2 separate regions of the Homo sapiens genome follow, and region 1 is linked to region 2. Evidence: promoter capture Hi-C in 16 types of primary human blood cells and fetal thymus (Javierre and others, 2016). All regions are on one chromosome and are shown on one strand. The core of a region is centred on a gene start or on the middle of the fragment in contact, and the rest is flanking DNA. Distances in the headings are between cores, read along the strand shown.

Region 1 (5,242 bases), core at 499-2,998, 1.9 Mb before region 2:
GCCCCGGGTGGGCTCGTCCGAGCCGTTGTTGGGCGCCTCCATGCACAGGTAGTTGGGGTCGTTCTTGTTGGGGAGTTTCCGGCAGTCCAGGGAGTCGGGCCACTTGAAGTTGAACTGCTCCATAATCGGGGAGCACTTGAGCCGGGCCTGCTCGCACATGACCCGGCAGGCGGGGATGGGGGTAGAGACCTGCTCGGTGCACATCGGCGCGTACAGCGAGCACAGGAAGAAGCGGAGGTGGCCGTGGCAGCCGTACTCCACCAGCGGCGCGAACTCGTGCAACTGGATGGCTGCCTCGCGCTGGTTCTCGTGGCCCATCAGGTTGGGCATACGAGTCATGTTGTAGCCGATGTCCTTGCACATCGGGATCTCGATGGGCTGGCATTTGCCGTCGCCCGGGCGCTCCATGTCCATGGAGCTGATGGCGGCGCACGAGCCCATCACCTGCAGGACCAGCCACAGGCGGGGGCCCGGGCGCTGCATGCTGGCGTTGGACGTGTCCTCGCGGGGAGCTCCGCGCCCCTCAGCGCCGCCGCTCCCGGGCACGGGCTGCTGCTGGCCCCGGCTCTCCACCCCTGCTCGGGCCCCCGCCCATGCCCGCCCGGCCTGGCCCGAGCGCTGCGCACAGCGCCCCCGGCTCGGCTCTCCGCGCCCGGCGTCCGCCGAGTTGGGGGCCGCGGCGGAGAGCAGCAAAGTTTGCAAACAATACCGGGAAGCGAGGGAAGCCCCCGGAGCTCCCGGCGCAGCGGCCCGGCGCGAGCTCCAACTCACGGCCGCGGCAAACTTCGGCCTCTTCTTGGAGCGCCCAGGTGGCGCGTCTGGAGCGGGCTGGCGGCGCGGGCACACCGAGGCCGGCCCAGCTCGCGGCGCCCCCACAGCCCGGGCGGCTCCTCCCTCCCTGCGCCGGCCTCGGCCGGGACCAGCCGGCAGCTGTTTCGAGGTTTGCGTCCCGGGATGAGAAGACTCGCAAAAAGGCAAAGGGGGGCAGAAAAGCCGAGCGCTGACAGGCCCCGCCCCCGGGCCGCGCGCCCCGCCCCGCCGCTGCTTTGCATGAGAAAGCGCAGCGGCCCGGGGCAGCCTCCTCCCCGCCGCCCCGCCGCGGGCTCCCGGGCCCCGCGGGGGCCGATCCCCCCCGGCCTGCAGCCCAGCCTGCGGGGGGCGCAGCGCCTAGTCCCGCCCGCGTCGCCCGCCAGCCCCGGGACAGCCCGCCTGGCGCGCGGGGCTCTGCGCGCTGCGACCCTCCCCGGCAGTCCCGCCCGCCTCTCCTCGCCCTCTCTCTGCCTGGCCTCCAACTTTGCCTCTCGCTATCCTCTCCGCCGGCGCCCCCTTTCCCGGCGGTCCCCGGGATGGTCCCCGGCACCCCGAGGACGCCGAGGTTACGGGAAGTTCGGGGACTGGCGGGAGAAGGGGTTTGGGGGTGGTCCGCGGCGAGGGGCGCGGGGTGCATCTTCTCTTCCTTTTATGGTGAGTCCCGGGCGGAGGGCGCTTTCAAAGGGAGGTGGGATTTGCGTTTTATAGCCTGGGCCATAAAGTAGGCCCTTGCTTGTAAACCTGCCCGCATCTTCCTGAGGCTGGGGAGGTGCTACCAGCCCCGGGCTCCGGGCTCCGAGGAGGGATTTTCTTTGAAATTTCAAAGAGACGAGCTAAGGGGAGGGGGAGGGGCTCGAGAATCCGGATTTTAGGGCCGCTCATCCGAGGTCTCCTCTAAGAAGGCGGGAAGGGGGAGGGGCGGGAAGCGTCCCGGGACTTTGAACACCGCCTCCCACCCCGCGGGAAGTGCGGGCTTGGTTTGTACCGCGGTGACCCCCGCCCCCTCCGAAGCCGCAGAGCCGGGGCCTCGCGCCAGCAGGGCTGGAGATGCCTTCTTGGCGGCTGAGTTTATTTATTATAGGAAGTCATTCGCTCGTGGGGTATTTATGTGATTTGGCGAGTGATGTGCCCGGCCAGCGCCCTCCTTGGCTGCAGCCCCGCAGGAGGACCCGGAGTAGGGTGGGATGGAGTGGGTCGTGGGAGGAGCGCGTCAGCGCCTGCCCGGGGACCCCCAGCTCCCGCGAGGACACGGAGGCGCGCACGCCGCTCGGTTTTCCTGGAAAGTGGAGAAGGAGCGTCCTGGGCAGGTCCTCTGAGCTCATCCCCCCTCGGATTGGGGCGGGTCTGTGACGGGGTCACTTAGGACACGACGTCCCCCCGCCATTCCCTTCCCCCGCCCAGGGCGTTCGCGGTGGGCGCCCACCGCCAAGCCCCACTGTTCCCAAGGATGCGCCAGGTGCTTCCCGTAGCGTCCTGGGTTGACCCTTAAAAAAACAGCACCCCTAGGAGGTGGCCGGCCCTCTCCTCCCAGGGTCTCTCCGGGTCACGATCTTCCAAAGTTCGGAAACTCGCAGGATCGCGTGTGCAATCTCCCGCTACCTCCCGGGGGGCCGGGGAGAGGTCAGAGGAGCGAGTCCCGCGTCCACCGGCCTCGCTTGCCCCCTGCCCGTTTGAGGATAGTTCCAGGGAGCAGGGTGGAGTGTGCGGACATCTTTGGAGGCAGTGCTGGGGCTTCCCGCGTTGGCGGCGCTCCACCCGGCGTGGGGGGCGGCTGCACGGGCCCCCGCGGTGGGGACGCTGCGCACGGGGCAAGGTCTCCCTAGGAAGCGCCCGGGAAGGAGATGGGGCCCGCCAGGAACCCCCCTCACTGACCAGCTTTCTGCACGCCGTGCAGGAGGGGGCCACTTCCTCGGAGAGTATTGGCTTTTAATTAAAACAAGCCCTACAATTTTTACATCGGTAAGAAACTTGGGGAAATCTCACCTTTCCACTCATTCATTCATCCGTTCAACAGACATTTGAGCGCCCAGAATCCCAGAATTAATAGGCAGGTTCAGGCACCCACCCCTGGGTCGCTGTCCCTGGGTGTCCTGGGTCTCACTAGGAGGTGCTGGAGGAAGTCGGGGTGAGGGAGAAAGTGAAAAAGAAGGTAGAAACTCCGGGCAGTTAGAACACCACCTTCAACTGTGTTATTTCCCAAGTGAAAAGTTGCATGATTTTATTTTTGAAAGACTGCCATTTTTATTATAGTGTTTTTTTTTTTGTTGTTGTTGTTTTTTGTCTAGTGAGTAATTTTTCAGGACCTTTAAATTAAAATTAATTCAGCGGAAATCACTTGGCTTTTCTAGAATTTTCCTGGCAAAGGTCCTTCCTGGGCCCTATTTTCCTTCTTTTCCTTTTTGTGTCTCTCCCTCAGCAACTATTAGAAATATTTAGTGCAAGAGTGAGAGCCAAACGCCGGGAGCTGGGTGTGAGCTATTTGAGAAAGTGCCTCCTAATTGATCTTTTCTGTGCTGTTTTAATTCAGCCACGTTCAGGCCCATTATTTTAGCTATAACCACTTCAGATTGCCTTTTTCTCTCGTTTTTTATAAAAATGTCTGCAGAAGTGCTTCGCCCTGTCCAGCTGAGATGGAAACCAACAAATAGACTTTATTATAGAGAAATGAGGGTTCTGAGAAATCAGCAACTGGAAGATAAGTCTGTAACTAATAAATGAAAAGGCTCTTTTGATGGCCCCAGCTGAAAAGATATTTTATTTTATTTTTTTTCCTGTGTGTGGGATTTGAGATGTGTGAGTCTAAGGAGCAGCCGGGGTCCCCCGCTGCTCAGCCCTGGCTGGCAACCGACCCCCCTCTGGCAAATGTTATGGAGAATTGGGAGGAATTTTATGGCTGTCTTTCCCTCAGCTCTTTTTTCTTTTGTCTTCTTTGAAGAATGACTTTAGACATTTTATTTACATATTTAACCATGGATGAAAGACGGAAAAGAAAGCTTTGGAGCCGTCGTGGGAATAGTGATATGTTTAAATTAATGGAAATCTTATTAGGCTTCTAAAATTTTGAGCAAAGATTTTTAATGAAACTTTATAATTAAACATGATTTCACATAACGTGCAGAGACAAGGAATATGTTTTTACCCCCAACCACCTAAAAATGTCTGTCTATCGGAAAGCTATCAGTAAACATTATCCGCCTTCAGGTTCTTGCAAACGTTCACCAGGGAAAGTATGAGGTTTTTGAGAGAGAATATTTCAGGAGTCAGGCAGTGTTTTGAACAAGAACTAAATATTTTTTGGAGGTGGAGGGGAATTGAAAGAGAGGCCCAGTTTCATTCCATTTAAACTCACAAAGTCAAAAGTATAAAAGTACTTTGACACGGATATTGCTAAAAATCAAAGTTGTATCTTTTCTTATTATGTAATAGTCAATGGAAATTATAAGCACTGTGCGAGGTTTTCTGAAATGGGATTAGAGAAAACCCAAATAATCTCTTTAAGATAAAAAAGTACTGAGTCTTTCAGCAACAGAAAGAAATTAAACCATAAGCTTAGCATGTTACAAGCTAATTGCAAGAGTAAACTGGTGGCATAGGAAGAAAGCTCATAAACAGAAGTAAAATCGTGCTGGTGAATGTTGAGATAAAAAGTGGTTCAGGCTGTCGCAACGCCTTTCAGTAGCTGCTGCTTGAATCACCTCTCTTGGTACATTCAAGTGTGAGGATCCACGTAAGTGATTCTTGTGTTTCTTCTCTTGTCTTCTCGTGTCGTCAATGTTTGTATTTAGTCCGGGACATTTCCAATTCTACCTTCAAGTATGAGAATGAAAACTGATCTATTTACCAATAATTGCTTCACATGCAGGGAAGTCTGATGTGAATAGACCTTGTTTTCTCTGACCTCATCTAGTATCAAGTTTCTGCAGAAACTTATCAGATATAAAACATGCACAAAAAATTATGTTTTCTGATCAAGTAGGCATGCTCCCCGTGGCGTGCCCCCATCTTTTTCTCCAGGGAAAATACCTTTAGTGATCTGAAGTGATACTTAGCAAAGAAAACACAGTTTGTACCACCAGAAAGGCCATGCAAGTCGCAGCGAATTCAACAGGCGCAAAAGTTTTAATTCTGCCTAAAAACACTGGCTGTGAGATGTGGAGGTTTGGGGGAAGGTGAGAAATGAACCCCGAAGCACCCCCATCCTAAAGTGGATGAGTGGGGTGTCCAGTGTGGCTCCAGCACAATTTAGGCAGCTATTTTAAGGCCACTTCCCTTGAAATGTGGTTTGAAATATTACCAAAGGTTCCACGGGGTGCACTAGTGTGAATTGCAAATCAGAGCATTGATTTAATCCTCTTTCAAGGCCGGGCTTTGGATCGCTGGCGTCGACTGGCTCCCCACTGCTCCTGGCTCAGGAGGGACCATTCAAGGGGGC
Region 2 (4,507 bases), core at 1,521-4,020:
TCCACAGTCAAAAATAAACAGACAATTGGTATTAAAAATTAATCAGTGGTTTCAAGGATTCCAGAAATCAGCACTTAAATCCGTGTGCAGGAAGAGACAGAGATGGCTTTTTTTTTTTAAAGACAGCAGAAATGTAAACAAGGTCAGCAAACTTTCCTCTCTAGAAGATATCTTACGGTGCAAACGCTTTACGTGTGGAGGAATCCGAGGGGGGAATGAACTGCTGCTTTTGATCATGAGAAACAAACGGAAAATGTATTTTGCAGATGATAAGTTGCAGGCCCTTATGCACCCCCAAATCACGTGGTGAACTTTGTAAAGCAAAAAGCAGGGAAAGAAAGCCCCATCAAATCAAGGTTGCACTTAGCTAGAGGGCAGAGGCGGTTTGGGATAGGGGTGGGGCTTCGCTACGTCCCTAGTTTTCAGCACTTTCCCTTGTTGTGCAAATATCAGCTTCAAATCCAGTCCCAGTTGCCTTTCCAGCCAAATCACTGCCCCCAGCACTGAACACATGGACATCTGTAACAGCCACTCTCGTAATCAAAAGTAAAATCCTCTGGATACACACACACACACACACACACACACACACGGAATGTGAGCCTTAATGAAGAACAGTCCACACTTGCTTTAAAGGGAACATCCAGTTCGCCTGGTTAAATTCTCTCAAGGGCAAGGGGTGAAAACCCGGAGGAGGTCGGTCACGCCCTGCTCAATTAGCACCGCCTTCCTCTGCAAAGTGCTTTACTACCCATTCAGTCATTTTATCAACAAAAAACTGCTGGGAGGTAGGTTGGGAAGGGAATTCTTCAATGGCCACTTTGCATCTAGGAAAACTGAATCCTAGAAACGCTGGAACCTAGAGCTAATTAACAGCAGAATTCAGGCACCAGATCGTGACTGTTGACTCTTTCAAATAAAATAGAAAAGTGCCCCCCTCTCCTACTCCTCCACCCCCGACTTGCCCCCCCTTTCCCTCGTCTCTCACCCCCTTTCCCCCCTCTCTCGCCCCACCCTCTCTTTCCCTCTTCTCTCACTCCTTCTTCCCCCCCCTCTCTCACCCCACCCTCCTCCCTACCTGGAGCTCTTGGAAGAAAGGAACACTTATATAAAACATAGCAAACTTGTCTGGTTGGTGTATCTGGGAAAGCGCAGCCTCAAGGAAAGTAGATTTTTCTGGATTTTCAGGCGGTGCAGAATGACTTTTGAAAAGCAAACGCTACTTTTAAACCTCCATTGACAACTTGTCTCTCTGAACGCATTTCTAGCTCAGCCTCAGAGCATTAGGCGGGAGAAGGGTGGCTTTGAGTGTTCTCTGCTCAGAGCCTGGGGCCGATACTGGACCCGCGGCGCCGCGCGAAGGCTCAGGGCACCCATGTGCGCACCTCCGTTTAACCAAATGAACCCGAGACCTTCGCCAGGGCGCGGGGAGCAGGAAAGCGACGCTCTCCTTTTTCTACGCCCTGGGCGCGCCCCGGGACTCGGGCAGCTGCTGCCCTGGCAGAGCCTAGGCCTTGCTCCCCGCCTGCCCCGCGGCTCCTGGGGCTGGAGACCGCCTCTCCCCGCCCTTCCCGCCGCCGCATCCGCGCGGCCACTCGGCCGCACACGCACATAATAAAAAAGGTCGGAAAAACCACACGGCTACCTTTCGTGAGCCCTGCGGGCGCCATACGTTAACTCCTTTAAATTCCTCCAACCCAAAGCAGGGCCGTCACTCCCATTGTAGAGAAGAGGACACTGAGGTGAAGGAGCCCCGGACAGGACCGCTGGTGAGGTAGTTCCCGTCGCGAGGGACGCACCCACCTCCCCATCCGCGCTCCCCCACCGCAAAGGACTCATTTGAGAGAACCCGCAGAGAGCCCCTGGTTTCTGCCAAGCTGGGGTCCCTGGTGAGCTGCGCGATGAGTGAGCGTTCCTCTAGGGCCCGCACAGAGACCCTAGCGGTTGCGGAAAGGGGATGCAAAGAACCGGGCCTTCCCTCCTGGAGCACCAGCCCCACAGTGCCGAAGCTGTGGATGGGGAGCTGTGGACAGGGAGCACACAGCCGGGAGGAAGGAGCGCACAGAGCGGAGCACCTCTCCTGGATGCCAGTTCCACAGGGTGACTGTGCTGGGGCTGGGGCAGGTCCGCACGGAACTCAGGGATGGGGAACAAACACCGTGTCCCTCAGCCACGCCCCCTCCTCATCCGCGGGGCAGCTCTGGGTCTGGGGGGTCCGGGGTGGGAGATTCGGGACTCGGGACCAGCCTAACTTGCCCGGATCCCGGCGCCCAGCTGGGAGCGCCCTTCTGGATTAGGGGCGGCTCGGCACCCGCAGAGGCGCTGTTGATGGGATCCGAGCCCCCGCCGAGGCCCCCGCCGCACCCCTCGCTTCGGCTGCCCTCACCCCGAGCTCCCCCGGAACCGGGAAGTTCGCATGCGTCGGCGCGCCAGGCACCCGCCCCGGCCTTACCTTTGCCCAGCAGCGCGCCCAGCAGCAGGCTCAGCGCCCCGCACAGCGGCGCCGCCGGCCCGGGGGCCGCACCCTCGGAGCGCATCCTGCGTCCCGGCCGCTCACGCAGCCCGCCGCCAGCCCGAAGCGCAGCGCCCGCCCGCGGCCCCCGCCGGCCGCCCCATGCCCGGGGCCACTCCCGCAGCCCGGTCGGCCGGGCCCGCTGCGTCTCTGCTGTCCGAGGCCCGCCCCTGCCGGGTCCACGCCGCCGCAGCTCCGGCTCTGGCTCTGGCGGCTCCGGCTCCGCCGCTGCTCGCGCTCCGGCCGGGACAACTTTTCTCCCGCAGCCTCCGCAGCCTCCGCAGCCGCCGGCCCGCCCCGCCCCCGGCCCCGCCCCCGCCCCCGCCCGGGCCCCGCCCCCGCCGAGCCCCGCGACCGCGGACAGATTGAGGGTGCGGTAGGAGAGAGTTCGCCTGCCCGCCGGGAGGGGCGGCAGATGGAGAACCCCCCCGCCCGGGCTAGGGAGGGTGTGCCCGGGAAAGAAGACCGGGAGAGGAGGGGGCGTCTCCCCAGGCGGCTGGGACGGCTCCTCCGGGGGTCCGCGCCTTTCCAGAGAAACTCAGCGTTCGCAGACTCCTGCCCGGGTGCCCAACGGACAGCGGCCCGTGGCCCGGAGGGTCCTGCCCAGGGACCCGACGCTCAAGGCGGAGCTGGACTCCTTCTCCCCACCCTCCCGTGGTCACTGCGGGACCTGGTGGTCGTCACGCCCCATTCCTCAACTTCAGGTGGCCGCTGCTTTAGCCTGGAGGGCTGGGGACATCTGGAATGCAAAGTCCCGCGCAGCTGCTGCGGGGAGAGCTCCTAACTGGATCACTGAGCGCGGAAAAGCAGCGCGCAGCGGAGCGTGAAGGCGGGGTGCGGGCTCAAGACAGATGCGGGTGTGCACCTGTGCGTGTGCGGAGGGGGCGAGGCACGAGATCACAGCGGTGTCTCTGGGAAGGGGACGAGAACGCAGAGGGGAAGAAAGGATCATTTTTCACTGCATGTCTGTGGGGCTTCCACTCCCCAATCATCTCCCCGCCGCCCATAGCATGTGTTTTATTATCTTTTCAGTGGGTGGAGAATAGCCCCTCTCTAGACTTGCTCCTGCAATAGGCAATTTCTCTGCAGACTCAGACAAGGAAGATCCGCCCTCCCCCCCCCCCCCCCGACTTCGTTCTCTCTATCTTTTCCCTCTGATTTCTCCAGGGCTGGCCTCCCTCATGGTGGTGATCCCAGGTGATCTCAGCGGCTTCCCTGTGCGGTTCCTGATGCTCATGCTCTGCTCTTTCTGCCACGCGTGGTCTGAGCAGTTTGAGGGCGGGACCCCGACTCCCCCCTTGTGACTGGGAATGAAGGGCCATGGGTTCGGAGGTCTCTGGACGTCCCCTCCTGTCCTGAGCTCCTCACCACGGGCTCAGCATCCCCTCTCACCGTGGGCTGGCTCGGTCCAACATCAAAAGGAAGCCTGAGGGGTCTTTTCTCACCATCAGTGCAGGAAAGAATTTCAAAAGAAAAAAAGAAGTCCTTGATTGAAAGAAAAGAAATGTAAACGAATGATCCCCAGCAACTGCAACCCCAAGTCTTATCTCCCAACTCAGCCCCTAAGGAATGAGCCAGGCATAAGGAGAAATTGGGGCGGGGTGGGGCGAAGGCTTTGCAGGGCACTGGCCAGAGTGGGAGGCTCTCTCCTGGGGTGGGGCCCGGAAGTCTGGGCCAGGCTGGGGGGAGATGTCTCCCTGGTTTTCTTGGCCGGCTCTACTCACATGATGTGAGGAGAAGGCAGCTTGAAAACTATCCAGGCCCCAAAGGGAACGGTAAAAGCTTGATTCTCATAGGCCTGGATAGCAGAGACTTGATTTTTAAAGTGGATTATGCTGATAATCGCCCAATTCTTCAGTACATTCAGCTAGTGTAGACCTGACCTTGGGGGCAGGGGGCAGTTGTAAAGTAGATTTGGGCTCCTAAAACGGAAGGTACGTTTTATTCTCAGTGCTTTGAGCCTGAACATCACCGGGGAATAATTTTTTTTTCATT

Evidence for each region. The method cuts DNA at HindIII sites, captures the fragments that hold promoters and counts their contacts. A CHiCAGO score of 5 or more calls a contact.
Region 1: the fragment with the promoter of FZD10-AS1 here is called in contact with the fragment with the promoter of TMEM132C in region 2 in 1 of 17 cell types (M1 macrophages); the score reaches 5.8 in M1 macrophages.

Annotation. Positions count from the first base shown.
Region 1 is chr12:130,158,184-130,163,425 of GRCh38, reverse strand. It overlaps FZD10-AS1 (FZD10 antisense RNA 1), which reads left to right and starts at 1,748. Exons shown (of 4, transcript NR_033834.1): 1 at 1,748-2,769. It overlaps FZD10 (frizzled class receptor 10), which reads right to left and starts at 962. Exons shown (of 1, transcript NM_007197.4): 1 at 1-962. The coding sequence starts at 483. RefSeq lists enhancers at 1,349-1,915, 1,916-2,482. The HindIII fragment of the contact is 7,232 bases long and covers 1-3,805 here.
Region 2 is chr12:128,265,433-128,269,939 of GRCh38, reverse strand. TMEM132C (transmembrane protein 132C) reads right to left here and starts at 2,770. Exons shown (of 9, transcript NM_001136103.3): 1 at 2,453-2,770. The coding sequence starts at 2,537. It overlaps LOC107987176 (a long non-coding RNA gene), which reads left to right and starts at 2,908. Exons shown (of 2, transcript XR_001749176.1): 1 at 2,908-3,369. RefSeq lists enhancers at 1,729-2,567, 3,103-3,624. The HindIII fragment of the contact is 9,837 bases long and covers 1-4,296 here.